Linked DNA regions of Homo sapiens: all the other regions are linked to region 2. The links are contacts of gene promoters, found by promoter capture Hi-C in human tissues and cell types (Jung and others, 2019). All regions are on one chromosome and are shown on one strand. Each heading gives the region's core, a stretch centred on a gene start or on the middle of the fragment in contact. The rest is flanking DNA. Distances are from core to core; before and after follow the strand shown.

Region 1 (7,135 bases), core at 1,506-4,005, 270 kb after region 2:
GTATTAAGTGCATATATATTTAAGATTGTGATATTTTCCCGTTGGACTAGTCCTTTCATCATTACATAATGTCCCTCTTTGTCTTTTTTAACTGTTGTTGCTTTAAAGTCTGTTTTGTCTGATATAAGAATAGCTATTCCTACTCGCTTTTGGTGTTCGTTTGCATGGGATGTTTTTTCTACCCCTTTACCATAAGTTTATATGAGTCCTTATGTGTTGGGTGAGTCTCTTGAACACAGCACTTATTGGTTGGTGAATTCTTATCCAATCTGCCATTCTGTACCTTCTAAGTGGAGCACTTAGGCCATTAACATTATGCATTAATTTTGAGATGTGAGGTACTATTCTATTCATCATGCTAGTTGTTGCCTGAATACCTTGGTGTGTTTTTTTTTCCCCCCCACTGTGTTATTGTTTTATAGGTCCTGTGAGACTTATGCTTTAAGGAGGTTCTGTTTTGGTGTATTTCGAGGTTTTGTTTCATGATTCCTGCTCCTTTCAGCAGTTCTGGTAGCGCTGGCTTAGTAGTGGCAAATTCTCTTAGCATTTGTTTGTCTGAAAAAGACTATATCTCTCCCTCATTTATAAAGCTCAGTTTTGCTGGATACAAAATTCTTGGCTGATCATTGTTTTGTTTAAGGAGGCTAAAGATATGACCTCAATTCTTTCTAGTGTGTAGGATTTCTTCTGAGAAATCTGCTGTTAATCTGATAGGTTTTCCTTTATAGGTTACTTGATACTGCCTCACAACTCTTAAGATTCTTTCTTTTGTCTTTACTTTAGATAACCTAATGACTATGTGCCTAAGCAAAGATCTTTTTCCGAGGTATGTCCCGGGTATTCTTTGAGCTTCTTGGATTTGGATGTCTACATCTCTAGAGAGGCCAGGGAAGTTTTCCTCAATTACTCCTTCAAATAAGTTTTCCGAACTTTTAGATTTCCCTTCTTTCTCAGGAACACTAATTATTCTTATGTTTGGTCATTTAATATTATCCCAAATTTCTTAGAGGTTTTGTTCTTTTTTTTTTTTTTTTTTTGAGACGGAGTATCACTCTTGTTGCCCGGGCTGGAGTGCAATGGTGTGATCTCAGCTCACCACAACCTCCGTCTCCTGGGTTCAAGTGATTCTCCTGCCTCAGCCTCCCAAGTAGCTGGGATTACAGGCATGCACTGCCACTCCCAGCTAATTTTGTATTTTCAGTAGAGAGGGGGTTTCTCCATGTTGGTCAGGCTGGTCTTGAACTCCTGACTTCAGGTGATCCGCCCACCTCAGCCTCCCAAAGTGCTGGGATTACAAGTGTGAGCCACTGTGCCCGGCCTTCATTTTTTTTTTTTTTTTTTTTTTTTTTTTTTTGCGACAGAGTCTGGCTCTGTCACCCAGGCTGGAGTGCGATGGCGCAGTCTCTGCTCACTGCAACCTCCCCCTCCCGGGTCCAGGTGATTCTCCTGCCTCAGCCTCCTGGGTAGCTGAGATTACAAGCACGTGCCACCATGCCTGGCTAATTTTTGTATTTTTAGTAGAGACGGGGTTTCACCATGTTGGTCAGGCTGGTCTCGAACTCCTGACATTGTGGTCCACCTGCTTCAGCCTCCCAAAGTGGTGGGATTACAGGCGTGAGCCACCACGCCCAGCCCTGGCCTTCATTTTTTAATTCTTTTTTCTTTGTCTGTCAGATAGGTTAATTTGAAAGCCTTGTCTTAGAGCTCTGAAGTTCTTTCTTCTGCTTGTTTGATTCTATTGTTGGAATTTGCCAGTGTATCTTGCATTTCCCCAATAGTGTCCTTCATCTCCAAAAGTTGTGACTGTTTTTTATTTATGCTCTCTATTTCTCTGGAGATTTTTCCATCCATATCCTGTACCATTTTTAAATTTCTTTAAGTTGATATTCACATTTCTCTGGTGCCTCCTTGAGTAGCTTAATAATCGACCTTCTGAATTCTTTTTCTGGCAATTCAGAGATTTCTTCTTTGGTTGTATCCATTGCTGGTGAACTAGTCTGATCTTCTGGGGATGTTAATGAACCTTGTTTTATCATATTATCAGAATTGTTTTTCTGGTTTCTCTCATTTGGGTAGACTATGTCAGAGGAAAGAGCCGGGGCTCAAGGCTGCTGTTCAGATTCTTTTCTCCCACAGGGTGCTCCGTTGATGTGGTGCTCTCTCCCTTCCCCTAGGGATGGGGCTTCCTGAGAGCCGGACTGCAGTGATTATTATTTCTCTTCTGGGTCTAGCCTCCCAGTGGAGCTACCAGGCTCTGGGATGGTACTGGGGAGTATCTGCAAGGAGCCCAGTGATGTGATCCATCTTCAAGTCTCTCAGTCATGGATACCAGCACCTGCTCCAGTGGAGGTAGCAGAGTAATGAAGTGGACTCTGTGAGGGTCTTTGGTTGAAGTTTTGTTTAGCGTGCTAGTTTTCTTGGATGCTGGTTGTGTTGGTAGTAAAGGTGTCACGTAGACAGAATTAGGACCTCTGGTGGTAGCCAGGATGTTGCAGGTGGTGGAGTTAGCTGCTGCTTTCTCCTTTCTTGGGACAGGGTTGTTCTTTCATGGGTTGCTGTAATGGTTTGTGTTAGTTGGCCTCCAGCTAGGAGGTGGCACTTTCAAGAGAGCATCAGCTGTGGTAGTATAGGGAGGATACAAGCTTGCTCTAGAGTCACCCAGATATGTATTCCCAGGCAGTGGGCAGGGTCATAGAGCTTTCAAGAGATTATGTCTTTTTTCTTCAGCTACCAAGGCAATAGAGAAAGATCGTCAGGTGGGGATAGGGTTATGGGGATCTGAGCTCAGGCTTTCCTTGGGCAGGGCTTGCAGTGGCCACTGTGGGGGATGGGGATGTGGTTCTCAGGCCAATGGAGTTATGCTCCTATGGGGATTGTGGCTGCCTCTGCTGCATCACACAGGTTGCCAGGGAAGTGATGGAAAGCCAGCAGCGACAGGCCTCAATCAAAGCCCACACAGACAGAAAGGCCAGTCTCACTCCCACTGTGTTCTCCAACAGCACTGAGTTTATATCCAGGCAGCTGGTGAGCAGGCCTGAGATCTTGACCCAGGCTTCAAGCCTCCTCATTGAGAAAGCAAGCACGGCTTTCAGGCTTCGCCCTTCCCCACCACTGCTTCTGCGCTTGTATCTGCACTTCCCATTCAGCCCCCAACTTCCAGATTCTGCCCTGGAAAATTCACACATGGTCAAAATTATTACAAATTTCAGCTGGAAGTTTCCTTCTCTCTGTGGTCTTTCCCCAGTTCCACTGACAACCCTCCCCAAGGGTCCCAGTGAGATAAAGTCAGAAATGGATTCCCTGGGCTTCCTTAGGGGCTGGGAGTGCCAAAGGCCTGAGAGCCCCTGGCAAACCACTGGTGTAAGTCCAAGAGTCCAAAAGCTGAAGAATTTGGAGTCTGATGTTCAAGGTCACGGAGCATCCAGCATGGCAGAAAAATGAAGGCCAGAAGACTCAACGAGTCTGCTCTTTCCATTTTCTTCCGCCTGCTTTATTCTAGCTGTGCTGTGCTGGCAGCTGATTAGATGGTACCCACCCAGATTGAGAGTGGGTCTGCATCGCCCAGTCCACGGACTCAACTGTTAATCTTGTTTGGCAACACCCTCACAGACACACCCAGGAACAATACTTTGCATCCTTCATTCCAATCAAGTTGACACTCAATACTAACCATCACAAAAATCAAAGATGTTCCTAGATACTGCATGCTCCCCTGTGAAGAAGTAAATGCCATTAATTCGATGGAAGGGAAATCACAAGACAATTATGATCTTGGCAACAATACTGATTTAACATTTTAAAAACACCATTCCCATTACATGTTTATTATTTCATATAATTCTCACACTGAAAAAAAATTTTCCCATTTTGGTGGGGAAGAATTGGCTTTAGGATGCACCTTGCCAATAATCACATGGCCAATAATTAATGGCAAAGACAGGATTACAACCCCTGTTCTAACTCCAAAGCTGGAATCCTTAAACACTCATAGAACTCTATTTTGACTAATCATGGTATTAGTAAAATAGAACCATAAAAAGAATATTAAAATTCAGACCTAAGGCTCAGTCCAGGCCAGGCACGGTGGCTCACACCTATATTCCCAGCACTTTGGGAGGCCGAGGCGGGCAGATCACTTGAAGTTGGAGTTTGAGACCAGCCTGGCCAACATGGTGAAACCCCGTCTCTACTAAAAATAAAAAATTAGCCAGGCATGGTGGCAGGCATCTGTAATCCCAGCTACTTGGGAAGCTAAGGCAGGAGAATCGCTTGAGCCCAGGAGGTGGAGGTTACAGTGAGCCACGTTCACACCACCACACTCCAGCCTGGGCGACAGAGCGAGACTCCATCCTCAACCCTTGATATACAGGCCCCACTGCAGACCAATTAAATAAAATTCTCTGGGAGTGGAACCCAGGTACTGGTGCAGCCTAAAAGTTCTGCAAATGATTCTAACTAATGTCCACCCAGGGTTAAGAGCCATACCAGTGTTTTATTTTCTCCTCAGCCTTTTCCAGTGCTTCTGACAAAAAGCACAACTGTCTGGTTTTGCAAGCTTGTGCTCTATTTAGGTATCGCTGCCAAGGTGAAAAAGGTAAAACAGTTAAAGACAGGCAGTTTGCAGAGGAGATAAAAGCAAAAGGCCCTAAAATTCAGAATTAAATCGAGGTGATAAGTTATGCAATACTAGAAAGGGCCTTAAATTGCTAGTGTTCAAATTCATTAAGCTTTCTGAAGATTACATGGACTCTTTTAGAAAATATCAGCTGGTAATCTGTTGTACCTGATCATATCAATAAATAGATGCCTTTTGGATTCTGTCTCTACACACAAATCATTTGAGGCAGAAGACAACAAATTACTTCAAAGTGCACGATATTTTTAATGTAACCAACCACTTAACTCATTTTTTGCCTGATTTTAATTCATTCCATCCTTACCCCTCCAAAATTGGTACATGTATGCAGATATGATCAGAGTCATTTTAATAAATGTCTGGCATTGATCAAAGGAAATATCTGGTGACTTTTGTTAATTAACTAAAGTCCGTAGTTTAAGATTCACACCTTGTGTTGTATAGTTTTATGGGTTTTGACAAATGCATAATGTCATGTATCCACCATTACAGTATCACATAGAATATTTCCACCACCCTAAAATTCCTCTCTGTTTTACCTATGTATCCCCGCTCCTCTGACATTTTCCCCTCAAACCCTCTGGCAAAACTGATATTTTTACTGTCTCTGCAATTTTATCTTTGCTAGAATGTCATGTAGTTGGAATCATACGGTTTGTTGCCTTTTCACACTGTTTTGTTTCACTTAGGAATATGCACTTAAGATTCTTCCATGTCTTTTCACAGCTGGATAGCTCATTTATTTTCTTGTTCCTCAATATATAATTCCGGAATGCTCCTATTTCCTTTCAGTACTTTAAAGACCTCATTCCATTAACTCCTGACTTCCATTATTCATGCTGAAAAGTTAGCTGTATGTCTTATCGTTGTTTGTTGAAATAATTTCTTTCTGTAGTTGCTTTTAAGATTTTTCTCTTTGCCTTTGGTTTCTACAGTTGTATTAAGAGGGGCCTAGATGAATTTTATTTAAATTTATTCTATTTGGGGATTCATAAACCTTTTTAATTTTAGCTGACTTCATATCTTTTCTCATTTTTGGAAACCTTGCTTGGTAGCTCTTCAAACATTGGTTCTACCACATTATCTCCCTCTTTTCATTTATAAATTTTAACTGAAAATATTCCACTTTGTTCCATATGTCTCTTACATTTATGCTTTATTTTATACATTTTTTCTCCATGTTCTTGTCCGAATATTTTCTATTGACCTGTCTTCCAGTTCATTGCTCATCTCTTTCACAGTCTAATGTGCTGTTAAATCCATATATGAAGCTTTTAATTTCACTTACTATATTTTTATTTTTATAATTTCCACTTAATTATGTTTTATAAATTCTCATTTTCTGGTAAAATTTTCAATTTTAATATCTGTTCTTTAACATACTAATCACAGTAATTTTTAAATAAACTTTTTCATTTTAAAAGTTTTAGATTTACAGAAAAATTACAAAGATAGTACAAAAAGCCTCCATATACCTCACACTATAATTAACATCCAACATGGCCTTGGGGTATAGAAACATTTCTTAAACAAGATTCAACAAGCAGAAATTATTAAGAAAAAGTGATCCATAAATTTGACTATACTAAATTTTAAATTTTGCATAGCAAAAAAATACCAGGAGATAAAAACATAAGATAAAGATAAGGAGAAAACATTTTCAAATATAACTAACAAGGAATTAATAAATTATCTTTCTTTAAAACTTCCTCAAGAATGCTTATACACTATACTGCTCAGGTGATGGGTGCACCAAAATCTCAGAAATCACCACAAAAGAATTTGTTTATGTGACCGACACCACCTGTTCCCAAAAACCTATGGAAATAAAAAATTCAAAACATTATAAAAAATACTTATACACCGTTGGTAGGAATGTAAATTAGTTCAGCCACTGTAGAAAACAGTTTGGAGATTTATCAAAGAACTTAAAACAGAACTACCATTCAACCCATCAATCTCATTACTAGGTATATATCCAAAAGAAAAGCCATTCTACCAAAAACATGCATGTGTGTGTATGTTTATGATAGCACTATTCACAATAGCAAAGACATGGAACCAACCTAGGTACCCATCAATGATGGACTGGATAAAGAAAATGTGGTATATATACACCATGGAATACTAAACAGTCACAAAAAAGAAAAAATCATATCCTTTACAACAACATGGATGCAGGTTAGAGGCTATTGTCCTAAGTGAATTAATGCAGGAAAAGAAAATAAAATATCATATGTTCTCACTTCTAAGAGAGCTAAACACTGGATGCTCATGGACATAAAGATGGCAACAAGAGACACTTGGGATTACTAGGTGGGAAAGGATGGGAGAGGGGCAAGAGTTGCAAAACTAACTATTGGTACTATACTCACTACTTGGGTGACAGGATTAATCATACCCCAAATATCAGCATCATGCTGTGTACATGTAACAAACGTACACATGTACCCCCAAATCTAAAATAAAAGTGGTAATTATAAATTAAATAAAATAAAT
Region 2 (7,011 bases), core at 3,097-5,596:
CCCGGGAAAGGAGAACTTTCTGAGCTAGTTCCCTCTGGTCCCGAAATCCAGCACGTTAAAGCCAGGCCTTGCGGTGCTGGGGGGCTGGTGGGGGAGGCGCACAGACTCCGAGGACAAACAGCCCCCAGGACACTCGGGATGGCCATTTTTTTAATTGACCACTGACAGGCTGAGGGAGTTTGTTTTAGTGCTGAATACCCCAGGAACGAAATCCTTTTGAAAGGGAGGCTAAGTCGTTTCACGCCACCAAAGTGCAGATTTGAAGAATGACTGATGGGACAAAGAGGCGCGATGCGTTAGCGCGGGTTCCCAGAGCGAGCGCAGCACTGGGGCAAATGCGGGAGGCGGCCTGGAGAGGTGGGGCGGGGCAGGGGAGACTCGCAAGGCCCTAAAACCTGATATCGACGGCGCACCAGCCTTCGACCCTCTCCCTCAGCACATTTCACTGTCAATTTGGTAAAGGAGATGCAAAAAGCAGAAGGGAGAGGAGAAAAGTGTAGTCAAGAGGAGTGAAGGACCGGAGTGCTGTAGGAGAGGGGAAAGAAGGAGAGGGAGGGAGAGACTCAGACTGAGGAAGCGGAGAGGAGTTCAGGGAGACTCAGGGAGAAAGAAGAGGACCGGGCAAAGGAAGGCTTAGCCGAAACGCTCCAGGCAGCGCAGAGTTCATTTTCCAAGTGGGGACGACGGGTATTGTTTTTGGCACCTAGGAAACCTTCGGAAGCTGCCGGGTACTTTCCCTCCGCCTCCCGTCTATGTTTGGTAAATATTAACAAACCAGGGCGCGTTATTTTCTGGAGTGTGCATGGAGGGGCTGGCAGAGACTAGGGACAGATTTCCTCTCCTGGAGCCCCCGCCCCCAAAGCCCCAGCTCCACCCTTCACGCACACACACACCTGCTTGACAACAGAAGGAATCAAAATCAATATTGTATTTGTCACCCCTCTGTCTCCTTTTTACTCCCTCAGCAACCCGGGTGCCACTGAAGCGAATTGTGGATTTATGGAGGGAAATTAGCATAAATTATTACGAAATCTGTAGCCGTGTGTGGTCCAGCTTGTGGGAAAAGAGGCTATTGCGAACTCTCCAAGCAGAAAGGTGGTCGGTGGTGGGCTCTGCGGAGGCGATGAATGGCTATTGCACGAAAGAGATTTCCATTTGGTTTGCACATGGGTATAATTGACTTATGTGTATTTTATACAGTTTTCCCAACAACTCCCTAAGCCACCGGGTCGGATGTGCCTCCCCCCCCACCCCCACCCCGTGTTTGCTTTGGGTTCTGCACAATAGACTCTGATGCACTTTTCAAGATTTCTGGAAAGTGCTCCTTCCCTCCTCCTTTTCGTAATACCAGTCTTAAAATGCTGTCAATAACATGCAAATCCTCCCTCCCCGCCCTGGGCTTTGTAGACCTCCAGCAGAACCAAGATAAAACTTTGTAGCAAAGCCCAAGTTTTAAATGTGTTTCTCACAACTTCTCTCCTCATCCAAGGCAAACTTGTGCTACTGGGTTCGGTTTACTTAAGTAACCCTGGTCGTGTGCAATATGCGTCAAACTCCTATCTCCACACTAGCCAAACTTTAAAGATTCATCAGACACAAATTCCTACTTGTATCCTCGCATGTTCCAAACTTGGGGGTGACAACTTTCCCGGGGAGATAGACAAAGATTTATTCCAACTTCAGACTTTTTTTTTTAACCCGAACGTTTTTACTCTTAGAATTTAGTTAATCTCCTGTTTACTCTGAGCAATGATTTCGACAGGCATACAATGGCCTCTTTGCAGGGCAACAAAATGCCAATTGTTAAAATAAGAAAACACTTCTCTCTCCTTATTCCCCACCCTCAACACGCACCCATGCCGGTTAGAAAAGAATCTTCCTGGCTGTCACTGGGGGAACGGAGCAGAGCTTTCACTCCTATCTACATCCCAATTCCAGCCGCCCACGATATTTTATCGGTCTACGTATCAGTATGAACGGATGCACATATTTACTAAGAGGATCCTAAAAATTCCTGGGGGAGTCTATGCTGGTACCCTTCCACAGCAGGAGCGCTCCTGCCTTGCCCACAGTAACTGTTTTGTACCGAGGCCAGCTGTACTCGGGAGCAGGAAAGCTGTGGACCAGCGCCTTTCCATTCTGGGAAACACAAGCCTTGCCCACTATTCCTCATCACGGATCTCCCAAGCTCCCCAGCTCTTTGGACTCCCCAGCTCCTTCCTCCCCAGGACCTTCGATCCGAATCTGGCCGCACAAAGTAACCCCCCAAACGCCGCACCTCGTTATGACCTGAAGCGCGAGTAGCTGGGATGAGTACGGCTGCCTCCGGCCAAAGCTTGGCAGAGGTTCCACCCGAGTCCAAGTGGTTTATCTGCTGAGAAGGGCAATACATTTATCTGCCCTTCTCGAGCCATACCCCCAGAGACAGGTCAACATCCCTCCCCCAGCCCCTCGCACCCATCTCCTCCTCCCAGTTATTTTTTCCGAATTAAGAAGGTGACATTATTCTTTTCTTCAAGCACTTCTGTTAATATTGAAAAACGTGCGCTTGCATCTCAACCGAGGCAGCCCAGAGCCAGAGCCATTTCAATATTAATGAAATTGTTTAATCTCCTAAATTCATCGTGTTTAAGTTACGTTTTGGTGAGTTATTGACCGCCTCCGAAACTGTAGTTAATGAAGTTGTGTGTGTGTGTGTTTGTGTGTGTGTGCATTCGCGCGCTGAAAGATCTTTTTTATGCTAACCCCAAACAGCTCCACTAATAATGCTCTAATATCACTTAAAGTGTTGAAACTTAACACCCAGAATTCTCTACGATCACCACGTCTAGGGAAAAAAAAAGTTCTCCCATTTCTGGACTTTGAAGATGATTCTGTGTGGGCTGTAAGTATTGAGTTTTTAACAACGCAGTAAAATGAATGTCTTTTAAAAACCTTAAAGGTCGGAGAATGTGCAGAAACCCGTGGGAACTCCTGGTGTGTACTTATAGAGTGCGTGCATGCAGGCGGGGTCGACTCACTATTTATTTCATAGCAATTTGATGATGATGATGATGACGGCAGCGACGACGATGAGGATAATGATAATAATAATAATGATTCATTTAACCCTTCCAAGGCGAATCCGAACCGAAGGGAGCCTGCTGCTCGCACCAGGCGGAGTGACCCAAGGCACATTCCCCGCTCCCCAAGAAGGAAAACTCTATGGTTCTTTCCCCAAGTTGTAGAAGATACTGCTGTCTTAGTGGGATCGCAGGCGGCTTTTGCTACACTCTAAATCCTAAATAAGTTCTCCATACCAAAAAAAGCGGCAGTTGGGGGATGGGGGGTGGGAGGTTGGGGGGGTGGGAGGGCTGGGAAGGGGAGTTCCGGGTGTAAAATGAAAACTTCCAGGATGTGCCTGAGTCCTAAAGTTTCAAACCACCTGGGAAAAGCGAGAGCCCCTGAGGCTTACCTGGTGATAAACTGTGTCAAACAAACTCAGGCCCTCCCCAGGTCCGCACAACATTTGCCCCAACAGCTCCTGAGCCTCCATCCTGTGTCCAACCAAATTCCCGGAGGACTTTTAAAGCAAATACCTGGACTCTTCGCCCAGATACACTATTTTAATTTTTAAAAATTTGGTCAATACAGTTACATTCAAAATGGGTTCTTACATGGGGATGTCCAATCACATTTTGAAAGTATTTGTAAACCCCATCACTTTTTCAAAGCTACACACTAACTATACAAAGCTGAAGCAGCTGCATAGGAAAGTCAAGTCAAATTTCGACCTAACTCTCCGGGGACTGGGGGGCAAGGGTGTGTTTTCATTATTATAACCCATGCAACCAACCCCGGGTAGTGCTAAGCGCAGGAAAAGGGTCGGCTTCAGGGGAAAGCCGTGCCTAAAGTTACCTAACGATACAAACCGGATACAACGCAGAGGAAACAGAATACCCCAGCCAAGCAATTTCCATGTCAAACATCATCCGCGCGGCTGCTCCATCTGTGAACGTGAGTGGTCGCCTGGCTCCCTCTTCCGCGGCGGCCGCTTCCTCATACCTTCACACGGCGCACACCGGCCGGCGCGTCCAGCTGCCTGCCCAGTGGCCGAGGCTCTTCCCCCTCGCCCAGTCTTGAGCTGGAAGTGATTCCTATTGGCCAAGGTGTCCATGTAAATAGGTGTGAAAGAAACCAGAGCTGGCCGGGCTCTCCCTTCTCGCTCAGTCCCCTCCCTCTGCAGCCCCCGCTCCCCCTCCTCTTCCTCCTCCTCCCAAGGCGATTGTCATATGATAGCTAAGAAGTGGCACATTAATGAAGCGCCGCTACAGGGGTCTTTTCTGCTCCTGTCACCGCTTAAAACTATCAGATGGTTCGAGGGAGGACATGGAGGCAGCCACCTAGCTCAGCGGAGACGCGGAGCCCACAGCAGCGCCCTCCGGAGCCCTAACACGTCGCTGCCACCATCCGCGCCGGGACTCCGCAGCCGAGCTCGGCCGCCCGCAGGACGCTCCAGGAGCGTCGCGGACCGGGCGGCACGGGACGCTGCGGGGCTGAGCTCAAGAGCCCAGGTTCGCGCCGAGTCCAACCGGACCCGGACGCTGCGCGCGGAGTGCGCGTCGAGTGCGCGCCGAGAGAGAAGCGGCGCGCAGCGGCGTCCTCCCGGATGCGGACGCGCAACTTGAAGCAACTTTAAGGTGAGCAGCTCTCTGTTCCGTCCCTGCCCCCTATTCTGGCCCCAGTACCGACTTACTTCCCGGCTATCCTCGCGCCGTTCGCCGGCTTCCCCTCCCGCGCCCACTAAGCCCGCAAAGTTGCTGGCGAAAGAGTCCGGGCGCTGGCTGATCGAGCGCCGCAGGCCCCACCCCCGACCCCCGAAGTCTGTTACTCGGTCTGGCTGACCCCGCCGGTGTCTCTGTGCATCCATGCTACCTTTCCCTATTACCCACCCCCTTCCCAGATCCGAGCAGTCCGCCGGCCCGCGCGGACCCAGAGCAAGAAGAGGGCGAGGAAGAAGATGCCTCGGCCCGGCCGCAACACGTACAGCGACCAGAAGCCGCCCTACTCGTACATCTCGCTGACCGCTATGGCCATCCAGAGCTCTCCCGAGAAGATGCTGCCGCTGAGCGAGATCTACAAGTTCATCATGGACCGCTTCCCCTACTACAGGGAGAACACGCAGCGCTGGCAGAACAGTCTGCGCCACAACCTCTCCTTCAACGACTGCTTCATCAAGATCCCGCGGCGGCCGGACCAGCCAGGCAAGGGCAGCTTCTGGGCGCTGCACCCAAGCTGCGGGGACATGTTCGAGAACGGCAGCTTCCTGCGGCGCCGCAAGCGCTTCAAGGTGCTTAAGTCCGACCACCTGGCGCCCAGCAAGCCAGCCGACGCGGCGCAGTACCTGCAGCAGCAGGCCAAGCTGCGGCTCAGCGCGCTGGCGGCCTCGGGCACGCACCTGCCACAGATGCCCGCCGCCGCCTACAACTTGGGCGGCGTGGCGCAGCCCTCGGGCTTCAAGCACCCCTTCGCCATCGAGAACATCATCGCGCGGGAATACAAGATGCCTGGGGGGCTGGCCTTCTCCGCCATGCAGCCGGTGCCCGCTGCCTACCCGCTCCCCAACCAGTTGACTACCATGGGCAGCTCGCTGGGCACCGGCTGGCCACACGTGTATGGCTCCGCCGGCATGATCGACTCGGCCACCCCCATCTCCATGGCGAGTGGCGACTACAGCGCCTACGGCGTGCCGTTGAAGCCGCTGTGCCACGCGGCGGGCCAAACGCTGCCCGCCATCCCCGTGCCCATTAAGCCCACGCCGGCCGCCGTGCCCGCGCTGCCTGCGCTGCCAGCGCCCATCCCCACCTTGCTCTCGAACTCGCCGCCCTCGCTCAGCCCCACGTCCTCGCAAACAGCCACCAGCCAAAGCAGCCCCGCCACCCCCAGCGAAACGCTCACCAGCCCGGCCTCCGCCTTGCACTCGGTGGCGGTGCACTGACCCGCAGGAGCCCACGCCCCCTCTCGTTCTCCTCCCCACCACCTCACTCGCCTTCCCTGGCTCCCAGTCCTGCCGGCCCCCACCTGGGACCGCCACCCTAACTTGTTCATTTCACCTTCGGCCAACCCGCCTTGCCCCAAGAGAACTTTGTTTTGGACCCAGGAGACCAAACACAAACTTGCAGATGGGCCGAGAGGCGCGTGGGAGTTGTCCTCGCCCCCACATCAAGGAAGGCCGGGGCCACCTGAGCCGAACCATCCCCTCCCTGAGGCCCCGAAACCCCCTCCTATTTGACCGGCGGGGGAAACCCTGTCACCCCCTCTTCGCCGAGAAAAGCGCGTCTTCCCTCCGCCCAGATCGGCGGAGCCCCGAACTCTGCGCAGTTTCAAGACTAGAGAAACTGCCTCAGATGTTTCCAGGAACAGATCCCCCCCACACCCCCTCCCCGCGAGGGCTGCAACAGCGCAGGGGAGGGCCGGATCTCTTTACGTCTTGGAAATCTGCAGCAAAAAGGAGCCACTAATCTTCCTACCCCACTCGCCTCCGCCCATCCGGCAGGGGCTGGGCCGACCACAGCTTCCCGGGGTTGCGGCCCTGCCTCCTAGGCTTCTGCGGAGATTTTGTTGTTGTTTGGGGTTTTGTTTCCTTCCAGAGGCTCCAGGCGCTGGGAGTTAGGAAAGAGGCTGCCAAGCTGAGAAAGCGACGCTCGTCCTCACACAGCAAAACAAAACTAAAAGTAACCTTGTATTGTTTACAAAGCGCCCAGTAATATGTAAACAGTGAACTTGAATCTGTCTTGCTAGGCGGACGAACGGGCAAAGCCCACATTATAAGTACCTGTTGTAATGTGAATGTTTACTCTTCATTTCTGGCCAGGTTTAGAAAGGGAGGGAAGTGGGGATGGGAAAGTTAATTGGGATGTTAACTTTCCGATGACTTAGAGACCTTTTTAGCTATTTATTTTATTGTTGGGAAAAAAAAAAAAAAAAAAGAAGGAAAGAAAATGAAATAAGCCCAAACCAAGAAAGCATCAA
Region 3 (6,519 bases), core at 2,749-5,248, 300 kb after region 2:
GGAAAGGAGAAGGAAATAGGGAATGGGAAGGCAGGAGAGGATGAGGAACTAAGTGGAATATGGAGGGGAAGGAGGGAGAAAAGAGAAGAAAGATACAATCACAGACAGATACAACAAGCATGGGGTTGCACTTCCTTAAACACAATAAGGGGCTAATGGAATGATTACAGTTGAGCAGCTGGAATGTGGGAGTCAGTTCTACATGAAGCAGCTCAGACGGCAAGCGAAGGGCAAATGTCAACCATCACCAAACACTGCTTCCTAATTCTTTCCTCGAAAAAATACAAAGAGAGTAAGGGAAATTAACATCAAAAGTTAACATCAGGCCATGCGCAGTGGCTCACACCTTGTAGTCTCAGCACTTTGGGAGGTCAAGGTGGGAGGATCACTTGAATCCAGGGAGACCAGCCTGGGCAACATGGCGAAACCTCGTCTCCACGAAAAAGTAGAAAAAATTAGCCAGGTGTGATGGGGCATGCCTATAATCCCAGCTACTTGGGAGGCTGAGGTGGGAGGATCACTTGAACCCGGGAGGCAGAGGTTGCAGTGAGCTGAGACAGTGCCAGTGCACTCTAGCCTGAGTGATAGACCAAGACCCTGTCTCACAAAAAAAAAAAAAGTTAACATCAAAAAGCCTCCTAGACCAACTTGTTCCCATTCGACTACTCCAGCATGTCAGCATGTCAGGTACCATTTGTGCACAAGGAAATGAGCTGGCCTGGCCTGTAGATTTGTCCTAGGAAGGCCGGATTCCCATCTGCTAAATGATGTTTCCAGAAGAAACCCTGGCTCTTGAGCAGCAGCAAAGGGTACATGGAAATTCAGTACAAGCACCGATCCTCTCAAAGCAGTTTTTCTAAGTTCCCTTGCATAAAGCAGGTTTTTTTCTCCGCTTAAACAACAACAATTTGTTTTACTTTGATAGGTCCTTCTGAATAATGGTTTCATCATTAAACATCTGGCTTCTTCTTAGCAGATTAGGCCTCCAATGAGGAAAGTGTGTTTATAATTCTAATTTGAAACACAGCACATTAATACGCTGATTCTCATAATGTTTGCCTTAACCTGTTTGGAGAAATTATGACTACAAATATCTTGTATACAACACCTGTAACTACCAGCTTGTACAAACAACATAAGAGCAGGAGCCGCCTCATCCAGACGATTGGAACCACTTCAGAGGCGATCATGATTAGTGCTTTGGCTGGAAGCCATATTTTACACATAAACTCAGCATCTGCCTCCGATATGCTGTCCCAGGCTAACAGACCCACCTTCCCTGTTACTAATAAGCACATTCACGAGCGCCAGATGGTCTGACGGGAAGAGCTCTGCCTTTTCCTGAGCTAGGCACACTGGAGGGAGGCAGCCTGAGCCGGCTCCAAGTCATATTTCCTCGGGCTCTAGGTTCCTGCAATGCTGCGTGCAAACAGGCGCCACTAAAAAAGAATGTAAATGAGGGTGCTATTCATTATTTACGGCTGGCACCTTGCCATCCCCTCCTCCTCTGGGCGACGCCTGCCTGTAGGAACAGGAAAAGCATCTGATGAGAGCAGGGCCATCGTGGAGGAGTCAAGCCATTGCGAACCAGTTTCTTACATTTCGCTGAGGATCCTGCAGGCTCAGCATTTCTGGCCCACGGGAGAGCTGAGCTTTTCACTTTCTTCCTAACAAAGCACTAGAGTTCCTTGGCCTCATGTCTGTACCAAGGGTGTTCATTTACAGTCTAACCTGAAAAAGCTGGCTAGCTGCTCTAATCCCATTCATTGCTGAGGTCGTTGGCCCCATGCCTGGGTTTGAGCCCAGGCAAAGAAGAAAGAAAAAGAGGGGTTGGGGGGAATGATGGTCTACACAGAGGAGACTTACAAGAAAGTTCTAGACTAAACCGGCCAGAAGTTGCACCCAAAGAATAGCTCACTTCTTTGGGTGAGTGCCTACAGATCTTATGCTATATAATGAAATGTTTCACAAGTTTATATCATCTCTCCCTAACTGATCTTAAGCTACAGGAGGGCATAAACTATACATTATACTTATTCTGAATTTCTTCAAGTGCCAATCTAACACAGTGTCCAGAAGATCATCACTAAACCCTAAACGTGGTTTTTAACTCTTTAAGTATAATTTTTTATTGACTCTAAAATGCATAACTTGGCATTTTGAATTGAATCAAAGTTAGCTGAGCACAAACAGCAAAAACTGACCATTCTTACTTCTGGGGTTGACACAGTGTAGCTCCATATCCAGCATCAAACCATCAGGTTACTTTTCAGTCTCATCTGAGAGATATTTCAATACTGTAATCCCTATTGTTTAAAAAAACTTAAGATTTGATCATTAGACATTGTATTTATGTATCAAATAACACATGTACCCCATAGATATAATTATGTCTGTATGCCATCTTCTCGAATGTGGAAAACTTTTTCTTGCCTAATACAAAACATGATCGCTACTAGGATTGGTCTGAACCCTTTGATTGCAAGTGACAAAACTCCAACTCCAGCTTTGTCAGAAAAGGGGGGGATGGATTTGTTGGTTTCTGAATTCAAACTATGAAAAGGGCAGACATGAAGCGAGACTCAGGGTGAGCTGAGGCCATTCTCCCTGCAATCCTCTTTCTCTTCTTTGTATCTATCTAAATATTTGCTTCAACTTCTCTGAACAATTGACCTCACACAATGGAAATATGGCTACAGGTGGTCTAGGCTTTTATCTCTCTAGCCACATGGACAAGAGTTCAAAACAAAACAAAACGAAACAAAACAAAAACCCTGCTCTTCTCCAGCAGTTTCAGTTGGAAAAAGAAGGGACCTAATTGGCCTTATGTGAGTCATGTGCCCATTCCTGGGCTAGTCATGTGACCAGGGGAGCCTAAATGATGATTGGCTCAGACTCAGTCATGTGTCCATCTCTGTGGCCCAGGAAAAAGAACCATGAAGCATCCATCAGTATTGGTTGAAATCTAAATAAAGCCATTTCCAAAAATAAGATGTGCTGTTACCAGGAGAAGGCAAGAAAGGGGCCTAGGTAAACTAAACATATATTCTCCACATTACTTTTGGGGGAAAAAAAAGCTATGCAAGGCCATAGGAATTTTTATTATTTCAGATATTCGCAGCAACAAACTAGTTTACTTCTTTTTTATTATTATTATTATTATACTTTAAGTTTTAGGGTACATGTGCACGATGTGCAGATTAGTTACATATGTATACATGTGCCATGCTGGTGTGCTGCACCCATTAACTCGTCATTTAGCATTAGGTATATCTCCTAATGCTATCCCTCCCCCCTCCTCCCACCCCACAACAGTCCCCAGAGTATGATGTTCCCCTTCCTGTGTCCATGTGTTCTCATTGTTCAATTCCCACCTATGAGTGAGAACATGCGATGTTTGGATTTTTCTCCTTGCGATAGTTTACTGAGAATGATGATTTCCAATTTCATCCATGTCCCTACAAAGGACATGAACTCATCATTTTTTATGGCTGCATAGTATTCCATGGTGTATATGTGCCACATTTTCTTAATCCAGTCTATCATTGTTGGACATCTGGGTTGGTTCCAAGTCTTTGCTATTGTGAATAGTGCCGCAATAAACATACATGTGCATGTGTCTTTATAGCAGCATGATTTATAGTCCTTTGGGTATATACCCAGTAATGGGATGGCTGGGTCAAATGGTATGTCAAGCTCTGGATCCCTGAGGAATCGCCACACTGACTTCCACAATGGTTGAACTAGTTTACGGTCCCACCAACAGTGTAAAAGTGTTCCAATTTCTCCACATCCTCTCCAGCACCTGTTGTTTCCTGACTTTTTAATGATTGCCATTCTAACTGGTGTGAGATGGTATCTCATTGTGGTTTTGATTTGCATTTCTCTGATGCCCAGTGATGGTGAGCATTTTTTCATGTGTTTTTTGGCTGCATAAATGTCTTCTTTTGAGAAGTGTCTGTTCATGTCCTTTGTCCACTTTTTGATGGGGTTGTTTTTTTCTTGTAAATTTGTTTGAGTTCATTGTAGATTCTGGATATTAGCCCTTTGTCAGATGAGTAGGTTGCGAAAATTTTCACAAACTAGTTTACTTCTACCAGCTCAGAAGAGTGAAGGCGAGAATTTGTCTTCCGAAAGTATGTTTTGTTTTTTTTTTTGAGACGGAGTCTCGCTCTGTCGCCCAGGCTGGAGTGCACTGGCACTATCTCCGCTCACTGCAAGCTCCGCCGCCTCCCAGGTTCACACCATTCTCTTGCCTCAGCCTCCCGAGTAGCTGGCACTACAAGCGCCCGCCACCATGCCTGGCTAATTTTTTTGTATTTTTAGTAGAGACGGGGTTTCACTGTATTAGCCAGGATGGTCACGATCTCCTGACCTCATGATCCGCCCACCTTGGCCTCCCAAAGTGTTGGGATTACAGGCATGAGCCACCGCACTTGGCCCTGAAATATTTTTAATCTTTCCCCAAACAACTTTTCAGAAGTTGAGAAAGCTTGCTGTCCCAATTAATGATACCTCATTTCTATTGTATTTTCATTGTTGTGTTTGTTTTTACCTTAATTGAAATTATATATGCAAACAGTTTAAAAAGCCATATAGTTCTACAAGGGCTATTTATAATGGAAAACAGTTGTTCTCCCGCAACCTTCCCTCCACTCCAGTAAAGACTTTTAGCTATTTATTTTGGTATTTACCTCTTGTAGTGAATTCTTACAATTTTATGTTGCCTCAGCATACATTTTGCGTTCTATTTTTTTTGTTTTTTTGTTTTTCTTATTTTTATTTTTGATTTTTGATATGGAGTCTCACTCTGTCACCCCAGCTGGAGTGCAATGGCATGATCTTGGCTCACTGCAACCTCTGCCTCCCAGGTTCAAGTGATTCTCGTGCCTCAGCCTCCCAAGTAGCTGGGATTACAGGTGTGAGCCACCATGCCCAACTTCAGCATCCTTTTGAATATAAGTTGGACATTCTCACACCAGAGGCAGGGCTTAGACACCCTTGACAAAGTTTCCTGTTCTCTACCTCTTCCCAATTCCTCAATGTGGTTGATCCAAATATCTCCCTTATACCACCACCTCCTGGTGACCACCTCCCTATGGGACAGCCAGATACAACCTACTTGACTTGTTCCACTGACCCTCTCACCCCACATGACTGCAAAAATATGCCACAGTGACCAGTTTTAAGTCATAATGTGACCCCAGGGAATTTGTGCTGGTTGCTCTAAACACACGAATTAGAACTCCCCAAGAGAAACCAGCCCGGGTAATACCTTGAACCCCGGTACCAGCTTTGGCCCACAGATCTCTTGCTCTTTCTCTTTTGCTCCCCATCTGCTAGTTGAGCTTGAGTGTCCTGGATGCCTCCCCACTTCTCCCACTACCCATTGGCCCCACTAGTCATGCTTCCATCTTCTTTCTGGGATCTGTAAGTAATGAACTGCCTGTTATTTCATGTGTGTTGTTCTGCTTCCTCTTCTGTGTCGCATGTAACTGACACACCTGAGCTTCTTTCCCAGTTAGGGCTCTTCTAGGGAATGGCTATCTTGTAGGAATAAACTGGACATAAGTCAAAAAGCCACCAGGTTGTTTACACTGGTGTCTGCCAGTGTAAAGAAGTTTTCTATGAGAGGGACACCTGGTCATGGGTCAGACACTTGGGCATTAGGTCATTGCCAGGATAAAGAAGTATCCCTTAAAAGGAACATTGTAATCATCCATGACCAAATCCCTAGAGCCCCATCAGGGCAGGGCTAGAGTTTATTGCCACTCTCATGAGAGAGACCTCAGGACCAAATTAGAAAAAAATAATAATAATACAACACCTTCATATTTCTAATAGCAAGTAAAAATTTCTCTTTTGAGTTTTTATTTTTAGGCATTACCTATTGGTTTTCCCTACTGAAAATATGCATTTAGCTCTCTCGCTGCCCCTATTTCCCAACACACACACACAGACCATACATGGGCATACATGCCATGCCTCTATTCCCCCAACATTTTTATCGTAATTTTGATTTTATCATTATTCAATGTTTACATTATGATTATATGAATGATATATTTGGCTTAGCAATGCAATATATCAGAATAATTTTTTATTTCTCCCGTTTTTGTTTTCTCTAGAGTTCATACTTATCTGGTTTTCTTGTTTTGCTTTTTTTCTGGTTTGCTTTGTTTTTTATGAACTCTTGCTACATCATCTTCAGACTCTTTCCTGATTTCCTAATTTTCCTTTCAATATACTCAGATATTGCCAGTTCTCTATTTTGGAATTATCTCTTTCTAAACTCTCTGACCTGCTCCAATCTTCTGGCTGCTCTCTTGGTCTATTACACAGATTCATCTAGAAGTCTCCCTTTACCATCATCCTGAAAATTGTGTTCACACCCCTATTATAATAAATTCCGTTTTTCTGACATGCTATATCTTCATAACTGTGTTGGTCAGAGTTCTCTAGAGGAACAGAACTAATAGGATATATATGTACATCCTATAATATAGGGGAGTTTATTAA
Region 4 (6,501 bases), core at 2,020-4,519, 340 kb after region 2:
CAAGACCGAGAGGCCTGATTAGGGACACAGAGCTGGGAACAGCACAAATGCAAAAGAGGACTGGCAAAGTGTTTTTGTTTCAGGGGAAAGTGTTTTTGTTTCAGGAAACCTGCTGACATAGGGAATGCTTCTGTTTTTCTGCAGAAATGCTGCCTTCAGTGGACAAAATTCAGCCACAATCAAGCTAATTGAGTGCACAAATGTAATATTTTTCCAGGGCACCTCCAATTTAATGCTTGATGAAATTGTGTCTTTCGCATATATTTACAAAAGCTTTTCTTCATCCAGAAATGTCTGTTAAAATTGCTTATAGATGCTGAGATAGCAAATCACTCTTCTAATGTAATGAGGTAAGTCATCTCTATAAACTTTGCTTGCTCAAATGTACTCGCGTAAAAGAAATCGGGCTACAAGCTTTTCTCAATAAATAGAATGAACAACTAGAACTTGATGGCTGTAGCATGTTCTGCCTCACTGCTAAGGGATGTTTAAAATTGCTCGCACTCTCTCTCCTCGCTCTTGCAGCAGAGTTTTCATTTTGGTAGTTGATGGAAAAAGGAGGTCAAATAAACCGATGTGGATAAGAAGCCAAAGCCGTTTGTCAAAACACAGGGAGAGGACTGGAGACGGGAGTCATTTAAAAACTAAAAATTGATTTAAAAGATTTCTGTCCTCAAATCATTTGTCTTGCTAAATGTAGCCATTTTGTGAGCCTGGTTTTCCCTGCTGTAGCTATATTTACTAATAGTTTATACCATGGGAACTTCACATACTGGGGAAGATTCATATATACAGCCATTTGTGCATAGCCCAGTAAAACTGGTCTGAAGATCAAGTCCATGGAGAAGTCAAGACCTTTCGGGGTTCACCCATTTGTTTCTCAATAAGATTTGCCTTCTAACTTTTTTAACTGGAAGGGCAACTCTGTAGCAAAAGGCGGAAAAGACCATCTCACACACACCTAGGTCACAATACAGGGCTGTCATGTATGGCTGCACAGGTTGTGCACTGCACAACACCAAGGGAGGTATCATTCACATAGACTACAACAGGATGAGTGTTCTCTGGGGTTGTGCAACATGATGGCTCTGCCCAGCCCCACCAAGGCAGGGAGAAAAAAATCATGTTCTTGATCACAGTGTTACAGTACAATAAGTTTTCATAGCTACATTGCATCAATTACCTTTTATTCCTCAAAGAATAAAATCAAAGTTCTTGTTACCAACTCACAGCCTGCCAGGTACCCTTTTCCTTCTCTTTGCAAAGTAAAATTTCTGGGGAGAATAAGTCAAACCTCCAGATGGTTCTCTTTATTCATGAAACAGTTTGGACAGCTTGACTGAAGAGGACAGGCTGAAATCCAGAAGAAAATGGGACCAAAATTCAAGTGCCCTGGCTGTGAGTTTTGGAAAACACTGGACTGCCATTGCTTTGTATAGAGGAAAAACAGTAGACAGTGTTTGAAACAGTTCTCCAAGCGCCTTTCCTATGTTGGCCTGCCCTTTCAACTTTCCCACATACCTGTTGGCCACACCAGTGGCCAGACTGTCCTGGGCACAGTGGGAGCGTAAGTTTCCCCATATTCACCCCATGGCCTTGTCTGCTCCACACCACTGCTCCCTTTGCAGCCTGAAACACACGTATGATTGAGAGGTAACAATGCCTAAATGTTCACTGATCTGAAACACTGCTCCTGACAGTCTCTGCCCAGCCCTATCAATTCTGAGTTCAGTATAATTTGGGGTTAATGAGAAAGGTCCTGCTTCTTAGGCAGTTCCTTGAACTCTGCCCAAGCACACAGAACAGTATATTCTGTGATTTGGGGCATCCATTTTAATATGTATAGGCAGGACACATTTGATAAAATACCTGATTTTTGCATAACCTGCTTTTTAAGGACTATCTCAGGGGCCTTTCACATACGTTATGGGCCACTAGTGACCCAAGAGCCATGCTCGATCCAAATTTCCATCTAAAGTTTGCCAAAGGGCCAAAATAGCAGCCAATCAGCTCACGGATGTATTTGGTTTGGTCAATGCCATGTTGTTACGACTGTTGTTTGAATTGAATTTGAATGCCTCAAGCAAGGCAGGCATTCCCCATTTTCCCCAGATTCCCCACTTCTGTCCAACCTGCCCATTTCATACATTCATTTCCATTACCTACCTAGTCCCTGCAGATGACTGAGTGGGCCCTGCATCAGCCAGGTGCCAAAAATGAGTAGTTGACACACCCTCCACTAAGGAGAAGGGTTAGGAGGAGTAGTCAACTTCCCCTCACTCCCAGCCCTCTACCCTGCTTATGGGGAGCACTTGTATAAAAAGGAATCTGCAGAACCCAGTACCAGCAGCCTGGGGACAGCACCTTCACATTTATGAACACAGATAGATACATATATATACATGCGTATGCAGTCTATCCATGAAAATGTACTGGAAACCAGGCGACTCCAGGGAAGGCCACTGGCTAGTAAGGGAGAGACATAACTTTCCCTGTACAGAAAGAAGTCTCTGAACTTTTTGACATGTGTACCATTGTATCAGCGACCTGTCATTCATTCCCAGACCCTTAAGAACCTGCATGGAGTGCTTTCTCCCAGCTGTAAAACCTCACCTTAGATTTTAGTGTGCAGCTCAAATTGTTCCTTTTCTCTATCATCTTTCTCAATCCTCCCAGTCAAAAGAAATCCCTTCTCCGTGCTTCCCATCGGCTTGTGTTGGATCTCCTTTGCCAGAATGCTGTAGCCTGCCCCACCCTGCCCCACTGCTCTCTCCAGTTTGTGGCTGCCCCTGATGCTTATTTTCACCTAATTAACCTGTAGAAAGATAAGCAGATAAGGGGTCCCTCTGGGACCCTTTTTCTCCCCCATAGGTCCTCTCATGCCCTGGGCATGTACTGCTGCCCAACAGAACTTTCTATCGAAATGTTCCCTGCCTGCGCTGTCCAGATATACTAGCTGCTGACCACATGTGAAAGCTGAGCATTCGAAATGTGGATTGTGTGACTCAGGAACTGATTTTATTTTATTTTATTTCATTTAAATTTAACTTAAATAGCGACACTTGGATAGGGGCAACCATACTGTACAGCTCAGTCCCAGAGCTTTCTTCCTACAGGGACAGCCTCACCAGCTGAACCCCAAGCACGTTTAATTTTCAAACAATTCAGTTGAAAGCAGGGCCACAAAGTACGTGTTTCTAAAGTACAAATTCAGTTTATTCATCTGTTTATGACACAGTACACAGGAGGCAAAGTGTTTCACATCATAGACTTCACTTCCAACTCCTTGGAATGTTCATTTCTTTGGCTTACAGGAGAGACTAGACAGGAAGGCCAGGCAATGCTTAGGCAACTAAAATGAGGTTGGGGGTAATGCTAACGTCACCCTCACAGGGATGGCCACGGGGACTGTTATTCGCAAGCTGGTTTTCTAGACCTGTTAGCTGGAAGCATGGTGAGCACCATTTCTGGACGCTCAGGCCGTGTCGGGCTTCAGTCATCTCCACCACACAGGTACAGCAGCGCTTTCTGGTAGTCGCCCTTAGTGTCTTGCTACAATGGCCCAGGAAAGAAAAGAAACGTGGTATCAGAAAAAAGCCCAGACTCCTCAATAACACAGAAGTAGCCTCAACGCACAATGAAGCTTCTCCCATGACAAAGAGAAGACTCTGCAGGAGACCTGCCCTGATACAAAGGCCTGGAAGGCCACACCCAAACCATTGCCAGGGAAGCCTCCAGGAGTGTGGTCGGAGGAGGTGCTGGGGAAGACACTCAAGGCTCCTTAGGACTGTGGGGTGGAGGGAGTGCAAGGTGCTGAGGATTGACATAGGTTAGTGACCAGGGCTGTTCTTACTGCAGCAAGGTCCTACAAACACCCTAACTTTCCTCTCTCGTCCTCGTCTTTCCACAGAAAACAGGGTACTTTCCTAGCTCACTCTCCTATTTCCTGCATTATTAAGGTCAAGTGGAAATAAGCTGGTGAGGTGAGGAACAATTACTAAGAGTCTAACTGGTCCTTTGACTTTAAACATGTGCCCTAATAAACCTGGCTACAAAAAATCCAGCTCTAACTTTATCCTTGCTAACCATGGGCATGCCTTTGGACATCTGAGGAACTTCTAGAAAGGGGAATTGCAAGGGCTGTCTGAAATCTACACAGTGGTACCACTGTGAATGCCATCACTTCCTTACTGCAAATGCGACATCACATCAAAACAGACAGATGCTAAACTGATTGGAGAGATGGGAGTTCTGAATAACTGAAAGTTGTTAGGCCTATCCCAGAGGATTTTTCAAGGAACCAATGCATAATAAAAGTAAAATGTGGCCGGGCGCAGTGGCTCACGCCTGTCATCCCAGCACTTTGGGAGGCCGAGGCGGGCGGATCACGAGGTCAGGAGATCGAGACCATCCTGGCTAACACGGTGAAACCCTGTCTCTACTAAAAATACAAAAAAATTAGCCGGGTGTGGTGGCGGGCGCCTGTAGTCCTAGCTACTTGGGAGGCTGAGGCAGGAAAATGGTGTGAACCCAGAAGTCGGAGGTTGCAGTGAGCCGAGATTGTGGCCACTGCACTCCAGCCTGGGCGAGAGAGCAAGACTCCGTCTCAAAAAAAAAAAAAAAAGTAAAATGTAACTGATCTTCCAAGCCTCTTCGGGATGTCAGCAAGCCTTGCAGGATCATCGTCATGAACACCGATGATCATTGTAGAGTAACAGATGTGAAAAATATAAAACATCTGCCTGATTGTACAAAGTCCAGGACAAATCACAAATGGTGCTTTCAAAATAAATCCCTGATAGTTGATGACTAGCATCTCTTCCCCAGAGAGTCAGAAAACAGAAAATCGCCACTCTGTCATCATTCTGCCAGGCCACCTGCCAGGGCCCGGGGTGCTCTGGACGGCAGGGCAGGCTGACACTGCACCTCGGGCTTACCTGGATATAATAGTACAGGGACTTGCCGTACTTTCTCTTGAATTCAGACCTAATTTTCAACATGTCCACTTCACTGCGGGAGACCATGATTCTGATCAGGACCTTATCTCGCGTCCCCTTGCCCTGAAAATCAAGTTGATATTTGTTACATTCGCTGAGAATGTTATCGTTAAAGAAAGCGTCTACAGGTTGAGCATCCCTGATCTGAAAATCTGAAATCTAAAATGCTCCAAAATCCAAAACTTTTTCAGTGCCGACATGATGCCACAATGAAAAATTCCACATACAGCACTTAACACAAACTGTTTCATGCACAAAATTATCAAAAGCGTTGTATAAAATTACCTTTAGGCTATGTGTGTAAGGTCTATATAAAACATAAATGAATCTCAAGTTTAGACTTGGGTCCCATCCCTAAAATATTTCATCATATATATGCAAATATTACAAAATCAAAAATAAATCTGAGATATAAAACATTCCTGGTCCCAAGCATTTTGGATAAGGGATATTAGGGCACAGTGTACACTGCCTGGGTGATAAGTACACCAAAATCTCAAAAATCACCACGAAAGAACTTATTCATGTAACCGAACACTACTTGTTTCCCAAAAACCTATAAGAAAGGAAAGACAGAGAGAGAGAGGGAAAGACAGAGAGAGAGAGAGAAAGAAAGAGAGAAAGAAAGAAAAAGGGAAGGAAGGAAGGAGAGAGAAAGAGAGAAGAAAGGGAAAGGGAAAGGAAGGAAAGGGAGGGAGGGGAAGGAAAGGGAGGGAGGTGAAGGCAGGGAGGCAGGGGAAGGCAAGGAGGCAGGAGAAGGCAGGGAGGCAGGGGAAGGCAGGGAGGCAGGGGAAGGCAGGGAGGCAGGGGAAGGCAGGGAGGCAGGGGAAGGCAGGGAGGGAGGGGAAGGCAGGGAGGCAGGGGAAGGCAGGGAGGGAGGGGAAGGCAGGGAGGCAGGGGAAGGCAGGGAGGGAGGGGAAGGCAGGGAGGCAGGGGAAGGCAGGGAGGGAGGGGAAGGCAGGGAGGGAGGGGAAGGCAGGGAGGGAGGGGAAGGCAGGGAGGGAGGGGAAGGCAGGGAGGCAGGGGAAGGCAGGGAGGGAGGGAGGAAAAAAGAAAGAAAAAAAAAGACAAGACAAGAAAAGAAAAGAAAGAAGAGCATCTGGGAATTCCAAACACACCAGGCTGTAGTCAGCACAGACTCCCACTCTATGCCACCATTCAATAAATATATACTGAGCACCTACTACTGCAAGGCTCAGTTCAAGCAGTCTGAGTCTCCATATGTAACAAGAGGTTCCTGACTCTTGCAGGCTTAGAGGGAACATGCCAACACATTTCTATCATCGCTCTGTGCCATTTCTAATGATATGTGCAATAAAGACCACTGAGTTTACTTCCAGAGCATCAGAGCGAAGGCACCAAGGGGTGCTATTTGATATGGAACTCAAAGACAGATGGCAGAGGCAGCACAGACAAGGGAGATGTTCCAGAAGGAAAATGCAAAAGCCTAGAAGCCAGAAAACACATGGCACACTTGAGGTGTAGAAAATGGGATGGGTCTACG

The links. Contacts are between HindIII fragments. The study calls those that stand out against the background at their distance.
Region 1: a fragment that was not itself captured here is called in contact with the fragment with the promoter of FOXB1 in region 2 in 3 of the 25 tissues and cell types used here (heart left ventricle, mesendoderm cells and spleen).
Region 3: a contact is called between a fragment that was not itself captured here and the fragment with the promoter of FOXB1 in region 2, in 1 of the 25 tissues and cell types used here (lymphoblastoid cells).
Region 4: a contact is called between a fragment that was not itself captured here and the fragment with the promoter of FOXB1 in region 2, in 1 of the 25 tissues and cell types used here (liver).

What each region holds. Positions count from the first base shown.
Region 1 is chr15:60,270,347-60,277,481 of GRCh38, forward strand. No RefSeq gene overlaps it. Among named protein-coding and RNA genes, the nearest start is that of ANXA2, 120 kb to the right of the region's middle. The HindIII fragment of the contact is 3,771 bases long and covers 871-4,641 here.
Region 2 is chr15:59,999,965-60,006,975 of GRCh38, forward strand. It overlaps FOXB1 (forkhead box B1), which reads left to right and starts at 4,347. Exons shown (of 2, transcript NM_012182.3): 1 at 4,347-4,679; 2 at 4,943-7,011. The coding sequence starts at 5,000. The coding sequence ends at 5,977. RefSeq lists enhancers at 4,028-4,543, 6,360-6,439, 6,520-6,639 and a silencer at 6,646-6,940. The HindIII fragment of the contact is 14,342 bases long and covers 170-7,011 here.
Region 3 is chr15:60,298,363-60,304,881 of GRCh38, forward strand. No RefSeq gene overlaps it. Among named protein-coding and RNA genes, the nearest start is that of ANXA2, 96 kb to the right of the region's middle. The HindIII fragment of the contact is 3,629 bases long and covers 2,185-5,813 here.
Region 4 is chr15:60,344,138-60,350,638 of GRCh38, forward strand. ANXA2 (annexin A2) reads right to left here. Exons shown (of 13, transcript NM_004039.3): 12 at 4,938-5,060; 13 at 3,014-3,552. The coding sequence ends at 3,493. Among named protein-coding and RNA genes, the nearest start is that of ANXA2, 51 kb to the right of the region's middle. The HindIII fragment of the contact is 5,853 bases long and covers 344-6,196 here.